Regions from separate parts of the Homo sapiens genome. Here regions 2 and 3 are each linked to region 1. The links are contacts of gene promoters, found by promoter capture Hi-C in blood cells and fetal thymus (Javierre and others, 2016). All regions are on one chromosome and are shown on one strand. The core of a region is centred on a gene start or on the middle of the fragment in contact, and the rest is flanking DNA. Distances in the headings are between cores, read along the strand shown. Region 1 holds the start of CCDC88A (coiled-coil domain containing 88A). Region 2 overlaps ASB3 (ankyrin repeat and SOCS box containing 3). Region 3 overlaps PSME4 (proteasome activator subunit 4).

Region 1 (4,788 bases), core at 1,272-3,771:
TAAAGAGACACAGGGGAACAAATTCTGAGTATCTACTGTAATGGCTACCCTTTCTGTCATGTAGGTTCCCCAAAAGAGAAGTCAGTTTATTATCCTACCATTTTGCTTAGGAAATAGTCAGATATTTTGAGGATAAAAAATAATTCCATTACACAGCTGTCAAAAATACATTTACTAACCCTGGAAATAATTGATGTCTACGCTCTTTTTTCCTTTCTTAAGGAAAAAAATAAATATATACATATTTAGATAACATATATATTTCTTTGGGTGCCTATGAAAACAAAACACTGGTTGAAAATGTATAATAGTATAATACTTCCCTGTAGGATCAACATGTACATGAAAAACAGCCCACAAATCTCTTTGAGCACACAGAGAAGTTAACACGAGAGCAATTTTTTATAGATGTGACTTCTACCCTCTTAAACATAAAAATCTAAACCAATAAAATACAAAATTGATAAGGTTATCAGAGCAGAATGGTAGACTTATTCTCTAGTAACAACTATTTATTGATAACACACCAATTTCCCATACATATAAAAGTTCCAAACTACCTCTTCTCATCAGATTCTATTAAAGAGAAATAAGACTAAGTATACATTACTTTGAGCACAACTGAAAAATTCAGTTTGATAAACTACATTAGCGTACTTAGAATACACGTATGCTACAATAGCTGTAATTAGATAAAAGCTGAGTTTTAATTTTACTGATCCAGCTACCAATATACTTTCACTATTCAATTCCCATCTCAAAAGCATACTTTCCTACTTAGTACAAACCCAATATTATAAACACAAAAGACAAAGATTTGCCCAATAAGTCGTTATCTAATTGTTATCAAGACTTGTTATTTGCATTTCAAAACCTGTAAGAATACCTTAAAATGATCCCTAAAATATTAAGCAACCTAATAATTCACACAATAAATCATCTCATCAGGCTTTAGTTATTACAGGCATTTAAATTATTTACTACAGCAAGAGTCCTCACCAATCAGAACTGTTTGAAATTTTCTCTTCTGAAATCTGCTATTACTTAACGAGTTTCAAATTTTGAGCCATTTATTTCTAGATATAAAGGTTAATAAGAAACATTTCTGCATCAAATGCACATAACTTCACAGTAAAGTCTTTTTTCCTCTCTTAGGAAACCAGATTCTCATTTTCTCTCTTATTTTACCAAATTATCAAAGAATACACAATGTGGCTTGGATTTCAGTACTGAAGACAAGTGACAATACATGGTTGACAGAATGAAAAACTAAAGTTTCACAATTTTAACAGGTAAAATATCTAGGTTGTGATAATGGGCTGAGCCCATAACATTAGCATTCCTTTCAAGATCCAATTCTTAAACCACCTGAATATTTCTGGCCAATGAACCAAATTAGGGGCTTAAAACATCGTGTCTCAAAGTTCACCATATGCTATTTCTCAAAGAAAACGTTACCTAGGAAAGAAGGAAGAACTTACATTTGGAGCATGACCTGGTTCAAGAATACCCCATCCACCAAAGCCACATATTCATCAAGGTTGGTCCCATTTCCTGCGGCCAGAGGTCCAAACGTTTTAACCTAGAACAAACAGAAGGATCACCACGACATGAACGCCCACCTCCATCTCTGCAGCCACAAATAACTCAGCAAAATATACAATAAAGGACACCCCACTTACCCAAGTGACCAAAGGGCTGGTCATGAACTGCTCCAGAAGGGGAGTAAAAATTTCGTTCTCCATTTTACAGAGTATGTATTTGAAAAAAGGAACTACCACAAAAATACGCCTAGGGAATTGGTCACTAAACGTGGAAGTAAGTAGAAATCAATGAAAGTCCATTTCGGCAAGGGAGAAAAATCCCATCGTGGAGGAGGGGGGCACTCTCCCTCCTCAAAAAACACCCCAGAGTGAAACGAGCCGAAATCCCAAGAAGTGGCTTCGACGACGGACACCACGAGCAGCAGCCTGCGCTGGAAATGTCTGTACCGGGCGAGGAGGGGCAGAGAAAAGGCATCTGGAGGAGGAGGAAGGGAAAGGGGGCTGGAACCCAAGACAAAAAGCCCGTCAAGGTTGTCCAGCTCCTGGAGGATCCAGACCAGCGAAACTGCTCCCAATGAATCAATCCCAACGGGGGCTAAATGAAATACGTTAAACAGAGACCACGTTAAGGATACCGAGGCGCCACCAGACTCGACCTCGGCGTTCCGACCTCTACACGTTCCACCCACCGATGGGCATGGAGCCGCTTTCGACCCGCGGAGCCTCCACTGCCCGCAGCCCCTCAGTACCAACAGGCAGGGCTCGCCCCTTCCCCCCGAGCAGACACCATTCCTCCGCCGCCCTCAAGCCTCGCCTCCAGCCCCCTTCCCCTCCCGGGGGTGGGGGCTTGAATGTGTGTCCCTAACCCCCCAGCTTCCTAAGCCCTGCCAGCCTTTCAGCGCGTCTCTGGGAATCCCTGGCACAAAATCACCGCCGCGCTCCAGCCTTCTCCGCCCTCTATGGAGAAGCCGGAGTAACGGCCTCAGAACCGCAGTGCCGCATCACACCCCACCCCTCGCCGCCCGCCAGCGCCGCCCGCCAATGCCGGGGGCCGCCGTCAAAGGGAGCGCGCTGCTCCCTCCGCGCCGATATCCTTCCGCCGACTCCCCGCCCCTCCCGTGCAGCTGCCTCTGGATTGTGGGAGAAGAAAACCGCTGCATGAGCGCGCTCCCGAGCGAGCGCGCCCCCGGGCTAGCCTCGCCGCCGCCCAGATCCTGGCGGCGGGCGCGGGCTCGGGCGTGGGCGCGCGCTCGCTGCAGCTGCTGCGGAGACAACCCGCTCCTCGGTTGCGCCCAGGACGGTTGCCTGGTGGGCGGGGACAGGGAAGGCAGAGCAAGGGGTCTGTCTGCTCGCTCGCTCATGCCTAATTATGGTTTATTTCCTCCCCGAGTGACTTCTTTGATACGTGAAGGAAGGGGAAAGAAATCCTTCTCTTATAAACATGAGGGATGCAGACAGCCTTTTTCGGACAGTTTGATGTGTTCTGTAAAGCATGCCTTCTCCCCAGCAAAATGGAATAGGAAAACTCACTGCAGCAAATGGCAGAGGGACTTGAGCCACAACTTGGTGGGGGTTTTTTTCTCCTTTTTGTTTTCTTCCAAATGCAGTCCACTAACGCATGAATGTTCTTCAAAGTTGCAAGTGACATACAGTAAGATTTTTTAAAAACCAGAGCTGTCTGTCAGCACGTTGGTATTCCCTGACTGGAGCAAACATGACTCAGACATTGTTTTTTGGTTTTGTTTTGTTTTTTACTATTTGGGCATGGGTCGGGGGAAACCCAAGCAAAATCAAGAGCTACAAAGAAGAAACATTTAGAAGTCATCCAAGTTGGGTGACAAATAAACAGATTACATATTTGTCATAAATCTCCATGCCACGTACGACTGGGACCTTGAAATAATTTTAAGTTCCCTGGCAAAATCAAATGCTACTCCTCATTTCAAAGGAAAATAAAGACCTTTTTCCCGGGGTAAAATGGGCATATAGAACGCAATCTTTTTTTGATAAAAGATAATATTATAGTTTTATAATGTGTGCTATGTTTACATTACATAAATATTTACACGGAGTATATATTTTAAATTAGCAGTAAAAATGTTTTTGTCATAACACAGTTAAGAAAGAGCAGAATTTCTTAATTGGGTAGTTGAGAACCTGGACTCTGAAGTCTTCCTGCCTGGTTCCAATATGCACCAGCTGTGTGAGCCTACGCACGTTATTGAGTCTCTTTGTGCTTCGATTCCGTCACGTGTAAAGCAGGGCTAATAATAGGGTTAAATGAAATGGCAGCTTATAGTTAAGTGTTCTATAAATGTCATTAATGTTGTTTTTAACATTATTCCTTCAAAATAAAGAACCTTTATGAAAAACTTGAAATATAACCTCTCTGCTTCAGTTACAGGAGAAAGGATCTTGCTTTGAGGAGGGAACTAAATGCCCTTTGAAAATCATCTTAATTAAAATTAGGATGCATTCATGTGGCACTTTGCTAGGTGATGTACAAGTAGAACCTTGCATTTCCCTAGCCAGTACACAAGCCTTCAGACATCCTTGTTGCTAGCAATCTTTTCCATCTGCTCTTGATGACTTTTTAAAAAGCCTTTTAGAGATGGGAGTCTCACTGTGTTGCCCAGCCTGGCCTCAAACTCCTGGCCTCAAGTGACCCTCTCACCTCAGCCTCCCTAGCAGTTGAGACGAGACGTGTGAGCCACCACGCCTGGCTTGGTGACTCCTTCTTTTTTTGTTTGTTTTGTTTTCTGAGACAGAGTCTCTATTACCCAGGCTGGAGTGCAGTGGCACGATCTCAGCTCACTGCAACCTCTACCTCCAGGGTCCAAGCGATTATCCTGCCTCAGCCTCCCAAGTAACTGGGATTACAGGCACCCGCCACCACCCACTGGCTAATTTTTCTATTTTTAGTAGGGACGGGGTTTCACCACGTTGGCCAGGCTGGTCTCGAACTCCTGACCTCAAGTGATCCACCGCCTCGGCCTCCCTAAGGGCTGGAATTACAGGTGAGAGCCACCGCGCTTGGCCTGATAACTCTTTCTTAATAGCAGTTCTTTATTTGGCAAATGAAATACAGACAGAAGGAGAGTGGGCACCAAGGAGACAGCATTGCTTTCAGGAGCAGCCCAGTGCTTGACATACCCACTTTTCTTTGTAATCCCCCAGACGCTTGACAAAACAATATGGAAGTAATTATGCCTATACTGGGTTTATCCTAGGACAAATCAATCTG
Region 2 (4,788 bases), core at 1,110-3,609, 1.7 Mb before region 1:
ATGCAGTCCATGACTAAGATCTACCGTGGACCCCTGGAACAGCCTGCTAGCCCATGCTCCGATGTTAATGACATTGAAGGCACTCCTCCTGATGAAATCTAAACTGCACGACCCCTACTATGCCCCAATACAGCAGGAAGCACTTAAGAGCAGTCGTCGGCCAACCTCCCCAACAGCACTTGGGTTTTACTGTTGAGAGGGGGGACTGAGAGACAGGACTAGCTGGATTTCCTAGGCAGACTAAGAATTCCTAAGCCTAGCTGGGAAAGGTGACCGCACCTACCTTTAAACACCGGGCTTGTAACTCAGCTCACACCTGACCAATCAGGTAGTAAAGAGGGCTCACTAAAATACAAATTAGGCTACAGCATGAGGTAAAGAAATAGTCAAATCATATATCGCCTGAGAGCACAGAGGGAGGGACAATGATCAGGATATAAACTCAGGCATTCGAGCAGGGAGCAGCAACCCCCTTTGGGTCCCCTCCCGTTGTATGGGGGCTCTGTTTTCACTCTATTAATCCTGCAAATGAAAAAAAAAAGGCAGAAGGAGAATTCATTCTCTCTTGAACTAGGACATGCATCTTCTCCTGCCCTTGGATACTGGAGATCCTGATCCTCAGGCCTTCAAACTCCAGGACTCATACCAGTGGCCTCCCACACCCCAGTTCTCAGTCCTTTGGCCTCAGACTGAGAGTTACACTATCACTTCCCCTGGTTCTCAGGCCTTCAGACTTAGGGTGAGTTACACCACCAGCTTTCCTGGTTCTCCATCTTACAGAGAGCATATGATGGGACTTCTCAGCTCCCATAATTACATTAGCCAATTCCCATAGTAAATCCCCTCTTGTCTATCTATATATATTCTATTGGTTCTATTTCTCCAGGAAACTCTAACTTATCAAACAGTAATTGCACTTCTAAAACTCCATCCTACAGAAATGGTTAACCATGTAGACAAAGATATATACATAAGGATGTTCACTGAATCACTAGTTATAACAGCAAAACTTTAGGAAACAAACAAAATATCTATCAATAGAAGAATGGTTACATAAATTACATTACATCTCTACCATGAAATACTACACAAAAGTGTTTTCACTCAAGAGAGCAGAAGAGTGACTTGGTCTGTTGCATTTTAAAATGATCCCTCTAATATATTGAGGGTGGTCTGTCATAGGATGCAGAAGGAGCAATGGCAGATAGAGAAGATCTGTTAAGATGCTATTATAGCAACGCAGACAAGGTATTAATGGTAGTGAGAAGTGATCTAACTGTGTGTGTGTGTGTGTGTGTGTATACATACACACAAATATAGACATACACATACACAAATTTGCTGACTGACTAGATGAGAAATATGAGAAAAAGAAAGGAATTAATGATGGCCCAGAGTTTCTGGCCTGAGCTGGAACAATGGAATATTTCTATCTAACAGATGAAAAAACTAAACCACTTAGAGGTTAAAAAACCTGTCCAAAGTCACACCAATAAAATGGTAGAGTCACTAGAATTCAGGTCCATCTGACCGTAACTCTTAATCGCTGTGCTACAATGATTTATTTGTCTAAGGAACTTCTGCATCTGTTACTGTGCCCAGTATTAGTGCGTATTTTCTTATTTAACATGAACTAATAAAAAATACTATGAGCTAGATCATTTATTAGCCAAATAAAAGTATTTTTTAGCTATATGCTTAATAATTATAAGATTTTTAAGGGACTTTTAGTCAGCAAATGACTTATTATTGAATGGCATTAATTGTCAGTGAAGATCATTACTGCCCTCCAGGATGACAAGCTTCATAAAATCTCAACACCCATTACACCCAACCTCCAATACAGGAGAGAAGACAAGCAAATTTGTTATCTGTGCTAATATGTTAAACAGAAAACTAAAATGAGATACATAAGAAATACAAAAATATGTATGCATATTAAACTTCTATGTAATCTACACCACACTTGAATGCTCTTCTCCAACTTGAGTCAGAAGACCATGTATGGTACTCAGAATGGATTCCAAATCTAAATTGAAGAGACAGTGAAGCAAAACTCTTCTAATCATTTTAGATATTTCCATTTTATTTGTGTAGGCCTACATACCTTCTTATTTGGGTGCACTAATTATCTTTTAGGAATCTCTGACAGTGTATTAATATTAGATAAACCTCAGGGAGGTAGGAAAATTATATAATAAAAGACAGCAGGTGTGATGCATCACACCTGTAATCCCAGCACTTTGGGAAGCCAAGGCAGGAGGATCACTTGAGCCAAGGGTTTGAGACCAGCCTCGGCAACAAAGTGAGACAGTTAGCCAGGCATTGGTGGTGTGCACCTGTAGTCCCAGCTACTTGGGAGACTGAGGCAGGAGAACCGCTTGAATCTGGGAGGTGGAGGTGGTGGTGAGCTGAGGTCGCACCACTGCACTCCCACCTGGGCAACAGAGCAAGACTCTGTCTCAGAAAAAAAGGAAATACAGTCGGGCTTCTGTATCCACGGGTTTTGCACCTGCAGATTCAACCAACTGGGATGGAAGATAATAGCATTTGTAGGATGTGGAACCCACAGATACAGACGGCTGACCTTTTGTATGTGTGTATAGGACGTTTTCCTATCTTCAGGGCAGACTGCCGAACTTGAGGAGCATCCATGAATTTTGGTGTCCGTGGACATTTTGGGACCAATTCCCTGTGGATATGGCAGGACAACTGTAGAGATGAATTTAACAGCCAGTTCAAATGCCTTTAGTCAAAAGCATGCCCAAGTTTACTCAGCAGATGAAAAAAATCTGTAACATAAACTACACTATTCCGATATGAAGAAGAGATGTAACAGTATATTGGAAATGAGCTTTTTGCCTAGAAAAGGATATTCAAACTCATGTCTTTGTTACTAAAAATAGTTTGGGAACTCAAGCTTTATAGTTAACTTCAAACAGATTCTGAAAACATATCTTAAGCGTTTGAAATTAGAGGAATAACATCTATTTTTCCACTATCTTCAAACACTCAACTATAATAGACACTAGACACTTGAACATGTGATTTTAAAAACAATCATGACAAATTTCCTGCATTATGATTTAGGAAGTTTAGCCTTACCATCTCTTACCTGTTAAGACAAAAAAAAGAAAAAAACAAAACAACAACAACAAAAAAAACACCTACCACTACCAAAAACAATGTAAAGATTATTTCCTTTCCCGTCCAGCAGGTAACAAATTAGTAGTTCTGATGGGCTATGGACCCAGAAGTTTATATTTTAAGGACCTATACCTGGTGATGACAAGTATGCAGGAAAGAGGGTCTGAATTTCCACGATCAATGAAATGAAATTGGTTCTGAGTGTTACAATGCAGAGTATTATAGTCAACCTCATTTTAACTGAATGCTATAAATTCATTCAATTAAATGTTAGAAGCTTGGTATGAGAGGAAAAAAAAGGGCTTTAGAGTCAGAGAAATGGGTTCAAATCAAATACCCTAGTTTATTATGTAACCTTTTACAAGTCAACTTCTCTGAGCCTTGGTCTTTTCACCAATAAAATGAGGATAATACTGCCTCTAACACCATTTTTATAAATATTAGATAAAGAAGATAAATTGAGCATGTGGCACAATGACTATCACAAAGCAATGCTCAGTCACCATTTGTTTTCTTCCTACCCCCTCTATACTAAATGTCAGAATCTCGCCTTTAGTCAATGACCTTCACTCAGTAGTGTGCTGGTTAACATTTAATAACTAGCTGTCCAGAGGGAAGAAAGCCCAGTTTATAGCACTGGTTTGTAGCACTGGCTTGTTTCTGTGGTGTAAATACTCCTACCATGGCCGATCCCAAGCATGAAGTCACTGAATGCAGAGATGTAAAGAGATGTGCAGTAGCACACCATTTTTGTCTATCCCATCTGTTTTATTATCTCTACTTTGTTTTATTTTCTTCATAACACTTTTACCTTTTTAAATTATCTTGTTTAATTATTTAGATATTTGTCATCTGTTTCCTCTGACAAGAAAAAGCATCAGGAAGGCAGGCATCTTGTTTCATGCTAAGTAGTTGTAAAAATTCCCAAAAGTATTAAAAAGTGTTTAAAAAGAAAAAGACTAATTCAATCAAAACACATCCTCAATTTCAGTACAATTGCTCTTTCTGTTTGGTAAAGGAAGAAAGAATAAACATGACCAGTAACTACCAAATGCTTAAATTCAAACAGCAGACTACTTCTCCCATATCACCTAGCTCAGTCAATAAAAAGAGGCCAGACAGAGGCACTTCCGTATAAGATGTCCAACTAGAGTATCATACTAATTGAATCCAAGGCAGGCAATCTTACTATCCTTAATAAATAAATTCAGGCAGTTATTTTATGACTATAGAAAGGGAAACAAATACTACTGTTAATAAGTTATGTATTATACTTTTTTATGTTTTATTAATCCAGCTTGTAGGCAAAGCCTCCATACCTTGAATTTACTTTACCTGCATTAATTAACATTTGCAAACATTCTACAGAGTTGTGATAAGCTGCTTCATGAATTGGCATCCATCCCCTGTTATCAGCAACATCGACACTTCGGCCCTTTTTGAGCAGTTTCCTTAAGACTTTAACATTGCCTTCCCTGGCAGCAAGTCCAACTGTAGAGCACGTGTCCGCGTAAGCCTCTGTAAAATCCATTTGTTTGACCAGTCTACAAAACAAGGTAGAAGGATAATACTATAGTCAATAAAACAACACTTCACTCCTAGAGGTCAGCAAATCACGGTGGGCCTGTCTAGTATCTCTCA
Region 3 (4,788 bases), core at 900-3,399, 1.5 Mb before region 1:
TAATGGCACAACAGTTAAAACAAATTTTACTAAAGCATATAGAGCTGACAAGCTTATTTAGATAATCATTACCTTCCTCTTAAAATCAGTCAAAAACATCTCTCCTAATGTGCAGTAATAAGACACTCTTTTTGAAGAAATTCAGGTATAAAAATCACTGTTTCCTAATTAAAGATCTGCCATAAAGAATTATGATACCACAACCAGAGGCTACCCTGAGCCTATAAGCGGTAGCCCTGCTCCACAAGGCTACCACAACCAGACCCAGCCAGTTAAATTCATTGAACAGTTAAAAGTCACTTTTTACATATGCAAGGACAGATTTTATAGGAAAATGAGAATTGACATATCTGAAATCTACATTTTCTTTAGTGAAAAATATACCTCAATTTTCAATACTTTATTTCAAAATATGAGATTTAATTCAAAGCTTTTATTAATCAAAGAGATACATTCTAAAAGGAAAAAAAGGCACAAATCAGGCAAGCATATACAGAGTTAATAAACAGCAATCTTATTATTATTACTAATCACCAATGAACTGCACAAGACTTGCCATGAAGAAAATACTATTTTTAAATCAACACATCCCCAGCTATATTGTATACCCTCAAAAAGTAGCTGAATTAAATGGGTTATCTCTACCTTAATATTTGACAGTTATGAATTCAGGTATTTATCTAAGTAATAGGTAAAAACATATTTCTAAAATGTCAGTTATTTAACTATGTTTCTCACCATAACCCAGTACAGAGGATAGCAACAATACCTTCTCAAGTTTCAAAACCAAGCCCATAGAGTATAAACAAAGAATGGCTTCTTTTTCACTAACTTACTTCAAAGCTTATTAATATTGTATATTAATAGTATCAAACGTTAATTTGCTTTTTCAGACTTTCAAGACCAAATTCCTCTTAAAATTTTGTTTTCCTTCTATAAAGCTTCAACCACTGGCAAACCTGAGCATCTTAAATATTTTTGCATGATCAAAAATATGTATGTATCCAAAATCTGTTAGTAAAAAATAAAATCAGATTCCTTTACATGAACGTTATGTCTTTACTGAAATTAGATTTCACCAAAGAGAAAAGGCCTGTACTCAAGAGTAACAAGAATAAAGCACAAGAGAGTTCCCACCCTCCCCCCGCCCACTGTTAGAGCAGGGGAAGTGCTTGCTATGAGCCATCCTATTAGAGTATGTGTCTCCCCACTGCTGCCATAAACACTTAGTTTTCTGAAGTAGAAATATACAGTCTGCAGCTTATGCAGTCTGTATCTAATGCCATATAATATTAAATCAAGCATGAATTTTAATTACTGTCACTTTAGTTACTGTCATATTATACAAATTAAAAAAAGCATTCTTTATAACCAATTATTCTCCATAGTTTTTACTATATCTAAAAAGCCTGTCATTTGGGAATTTAAAGTTTTTCAAACAAGTTTCATCTAAGAGTCCTGACACCAAATTTCTTAAAATCCATGTGACACTTTGAATTGTTTTCTTATCAGGGAATTTGAAAAATAATCATTTATGCTGACTACTTTAAAAAATCCTGTATAAGATTGTAAAATATTAAGTAATGTATTTAAATAAAAGCCTTATCTTCTTCCTCGACTTTTAAAACTTGGATTAAAATACAGCTTCCATATCTCCTACACAGAGGTGACCCTTGAACAACACAGGTGTGGGTCTACTTACACGCAGATTTTTTTTTCAACTAAATGTATTAGCCAGATGAGAAATCTACACATATGGAGGGCTGACTTTTCCTGTATGTGAGCTCTACAGGGCCTACTGTGGCACTTGAGTATGAATGTATTTTGGTATGCTGTAGGTCCAATCCCCTAACTTCACCAAGGGAAGACTATATATAGGACATATCTGGGTAGTATACATTACAGCTTTTGTTTATTCTTATCCACCATAATTTGATCTCTTCTTGCCTACCACAAATTAACTGGATTAACATGATTTACAATAAATGCTTCTCAGCAAGTGTAGCTATTTATTTATTTATTTTTCAAGATAGGATCTCCCTCTGCCACCCAGGCTGCAGTGCAATGGTACGATCATGGCTCACTGCAGCCCCAACCTTCCTGGCTCAAGTGGACTCACATACACCTCAGGCTCTTGAGTAGCTGGTACTACAGGTGCACACCACCTCGCCAGCTAATTTTGTTTATTTACTTTTTGGTAGAGACAGGGTCTCGCTATGGTGCCCAAGCTGGTCTCAAATCCCTGGCCCCAAGCAATCCTCCTACCTCCACCTCCCAAAGCACTGGGATTACAGGCATGAGCCATAGTATCCTACCTCTTCTGACCTTTAGAAGATTTTTTACTAAAAGAAATCTCTACCCATTACCCAAGTAAAATATCATGACTGTATCTCTTTGTGACATTATAGATCTCATTGTGCCCAGGATGTAATCTGTGATATATTAAACTGTTCTGGTAGCTTTTAGCTATGCACATAATCTTAAGTGAATAGTCTTAAGGCACTGTCTTACAGATCTATATTCTGACTAAAAGCTATGTTAACAATATGTAAGTCAAATCAAATTCCATCACTACCTCTCCCTTCCTCATGTGAAATCCATCCTACTCATTCACTAGTTCATTTTACAAACCATAGTATCATTTAACCTAAGGAACAATACAATTCAAAAAAATAATTCCAGCACAACATACTGTAAATAACACCCTCTATGTAATAATAATAAAATTAAATCTGCTTCATAGCTTCTAGATAGTACCAGGCCACCTAACATATAGTAAAATGTATTAAAATATTTGTACCACTAAAAAAGGACCTATGAATTTTCAACAACTATAGTATTCGTACCACTAGATGGGAATCTTCTTTAGATATGATTAGAGCAGGACTATGAAAAGAATCACTGGTAGGAAAGAAGGGATGCTGAAAAAGAAATAACTAATAACACAAAAACAAAATATATAATACAAATCACATATGTAAATGAAGGCTGGGCGAATTGTCATGAAACAGCTGTAAACAATAATATAAAATTCTTCCTGTGTATAAGTGAAAGAACATCCTATCTTCCCAATAACCCTTCCCCTTCCAAATAAAAATAAACATAAAAGATGTAAAACCAAGCCACTAATAGATTTTTTCCCTTCAAAGTACAAATGTCTCACAAGAGACAGTTAGGCCTATTTTTGTGTTCTATTATCCAATTCAATCCTAGGTAGCAATAATAACTATAAACACAAATGAAAACCTGGCTCTTATCCTGCCAGTGAACAAAGGGTCACTAAATAAAGAGAAATCTTATATGTTGCTAGATTTTAAATTAACTCTGAAAACAGGAACTACTTCCAAGTCTGACACATAAGCTTTTAAAAATAAATGAAAACAGTCAGAAGGTGAAATAAGGAGAAAACAGGGTTACTCACCGTGGAGTAGTAACTGTTTCCTTTTCTGTGTGCAGCTCCCCCAGCAGAGCTGGGTAGTTTCCTGGAGGTGCCAAGAGAGGTTAGCTAGCCCTGCCCCTCATTGCATAAGCAACACATCCTTTCACATATCAATGAAATGGTCTCACTATTAGACCTTAAGTATGAATTTCTTTGAGCGAAAAGTTAGTAAAAGCTGAGATCCTAAGGATGATTTAACTAAAAATGACGTAATAAATCTATCAGAGGAAAGGGGACACAAAATAAAGGAATATTTTGAGATGAAAAATGACTCCTCTACCTTGAGTAACCCTGTTTTTTAGATGTTAGTTTTTTGCATCCTGTGATAGCTGGTTAGACCTAAAAGATTATTTAGAGAATGGACTGCAAAAGGAAAAATTAATGATGATTTCAGGATTAAAGGCAAGGGTCCAAAATTCCTGTGACTCTGGAAAGACATAATCCAACTTCCACATCTATAAAGGTAGAATTATGAGTATAAACTATACCACAAATATTTCTCTTAAAACATTATCTAAAGGTTCCAAGAGCAAAATAGGTCCTATTTTAAGATTAATTCAACAACCTGTGATATCTGACAAAACTGTTAAAAATTCAAACTGTTTTCAATAGTACGAAATAAGAAAAAAATTTATCCTTAATTACCCACAATTACTTTATTATATCCATCCTTTGAAACTGTAAAGTTTATAGTAAGTATAAGATATTTAGTGGCCAGGCGCAGTGGCTCACGCCTGTGATCCCAGCACTTTGGGAGGCAGAGGCGGGTGGATCACAAGGTCAGGAGTTCAAGACCAGCCCAGCCAAGATGGTGAAACCCTGTCTCTACTAAAAATACAAAAATTAGCCGGGCATGGTGGCACACGCCTGTAATCCCAGCTACTCGGGAGGCTGAGACTGGAGAATCACTTGAACCTGGGAGGCAGAGGTTGCAGTGAGCTGAGATTGTGCCACCGCACTCCAGCCTGGGCAACGAGTGAAACTTCGTTTCCAAAAAAAAGATATTTAGTAACCCTATATTGCTAAAGGCCCAAAGGTACATGGCATCCCCAAAGTGGATACCATTAGGTAGATCATTTACTTTTATGCTTAGGACTTGGCTTTTTATTTTTTGTCAATCTCTAATATAAGAATATAGCACAGAAGACAGGTTTTCCCATTTAGTAGCCACTTCCCTGAACAATGAGATTTTAAGACCATCCCACATACCCTATTAGGACTAAGTTAGACATTCTCACAGGAAAACTAAAAAGTAACCTAAGCTTTGGCTGGGCGTGGTGGTTCATGCCTGCCAGTAATCCCAGCACTTTTGGATGTGGAGACAGGCAGATCGCCTGAGCTCGGGAAAT

What was found. The method cuts DNA at HindIII sites, captures the fragments that hold promoters and counts their contacts. A CHiCAGO score of 5 or more calls a contact.
Region 2: a contact is called between a fragment that was not itself captured here and the fragment with the promoter of CCDC88A in region 1, in 1 of 17 cell types (non-activated CD4 T cells). The highest score is 5.7, in non-activated CD4 T cells.
Region 3: a fragment that was not itself captured here is called in contact with the fragment with the promoter of CCDC88A in region 1 in 1 of 17 cell types (monocytes); the score reaches 6.8 in monocytes.

What each region holds. Positions count from the first base shown.
Region 1 is chr2:55,417,335-55,422,122 of GRCh38, forward strand. It overlaps CCDC88A (coiled-coil domain containing 88A), which reads right to left and starts at 2,522. Exons shown (of 33, transcript NM_001365480.1): 1 at 1,683-2,522; 2 at 1,482-1,582. The coding sequence starts at 1,745. RefSeq lists silencers at 2,423-2,492, 2,523-2,572, 2,633-2,922. The HindIII fragment of the contact is 14,096 bases long and covers 1-4,788 here.
Region 2 is chr2:53,760,895-53,765,682 of GRCh38, forward strand. It overlaps ASB3 (ankyrin repeat and SOCS box containing 3), which reads right to left. Exons shown (of 10, transcript NM_016115.5): 2 at 4,483-4,691. The coding sequence starts at 4,678. GPR75-ASB3 (GPR75-ASB3 readthrough) reads right to left here. Exons shown (of 10, transcript NM_001164165.2): 2 at 4,483-4,691. Among named protein-coding and RNA genes, the nearest start is that of CHAC2, 4.5 kb to the right of the region's middle. The HindIII fragment of the contact is 1,118 bases long and covers 1,801-2,918 here.
Region 3 is chr2:53,910,450-53,915,237 of GRCh38, forward strand. The region is part of intron 20 of PSME4 (proteasome activator subunit 4); the gene reads right to left. Among named protein-coding and RNA genes, the nearest start is that of GPR75-ASB3, 53 kb to the left of the region's middle. The HindIII fragment of the contact is 2,420 bases long and covers 940-3,359 here.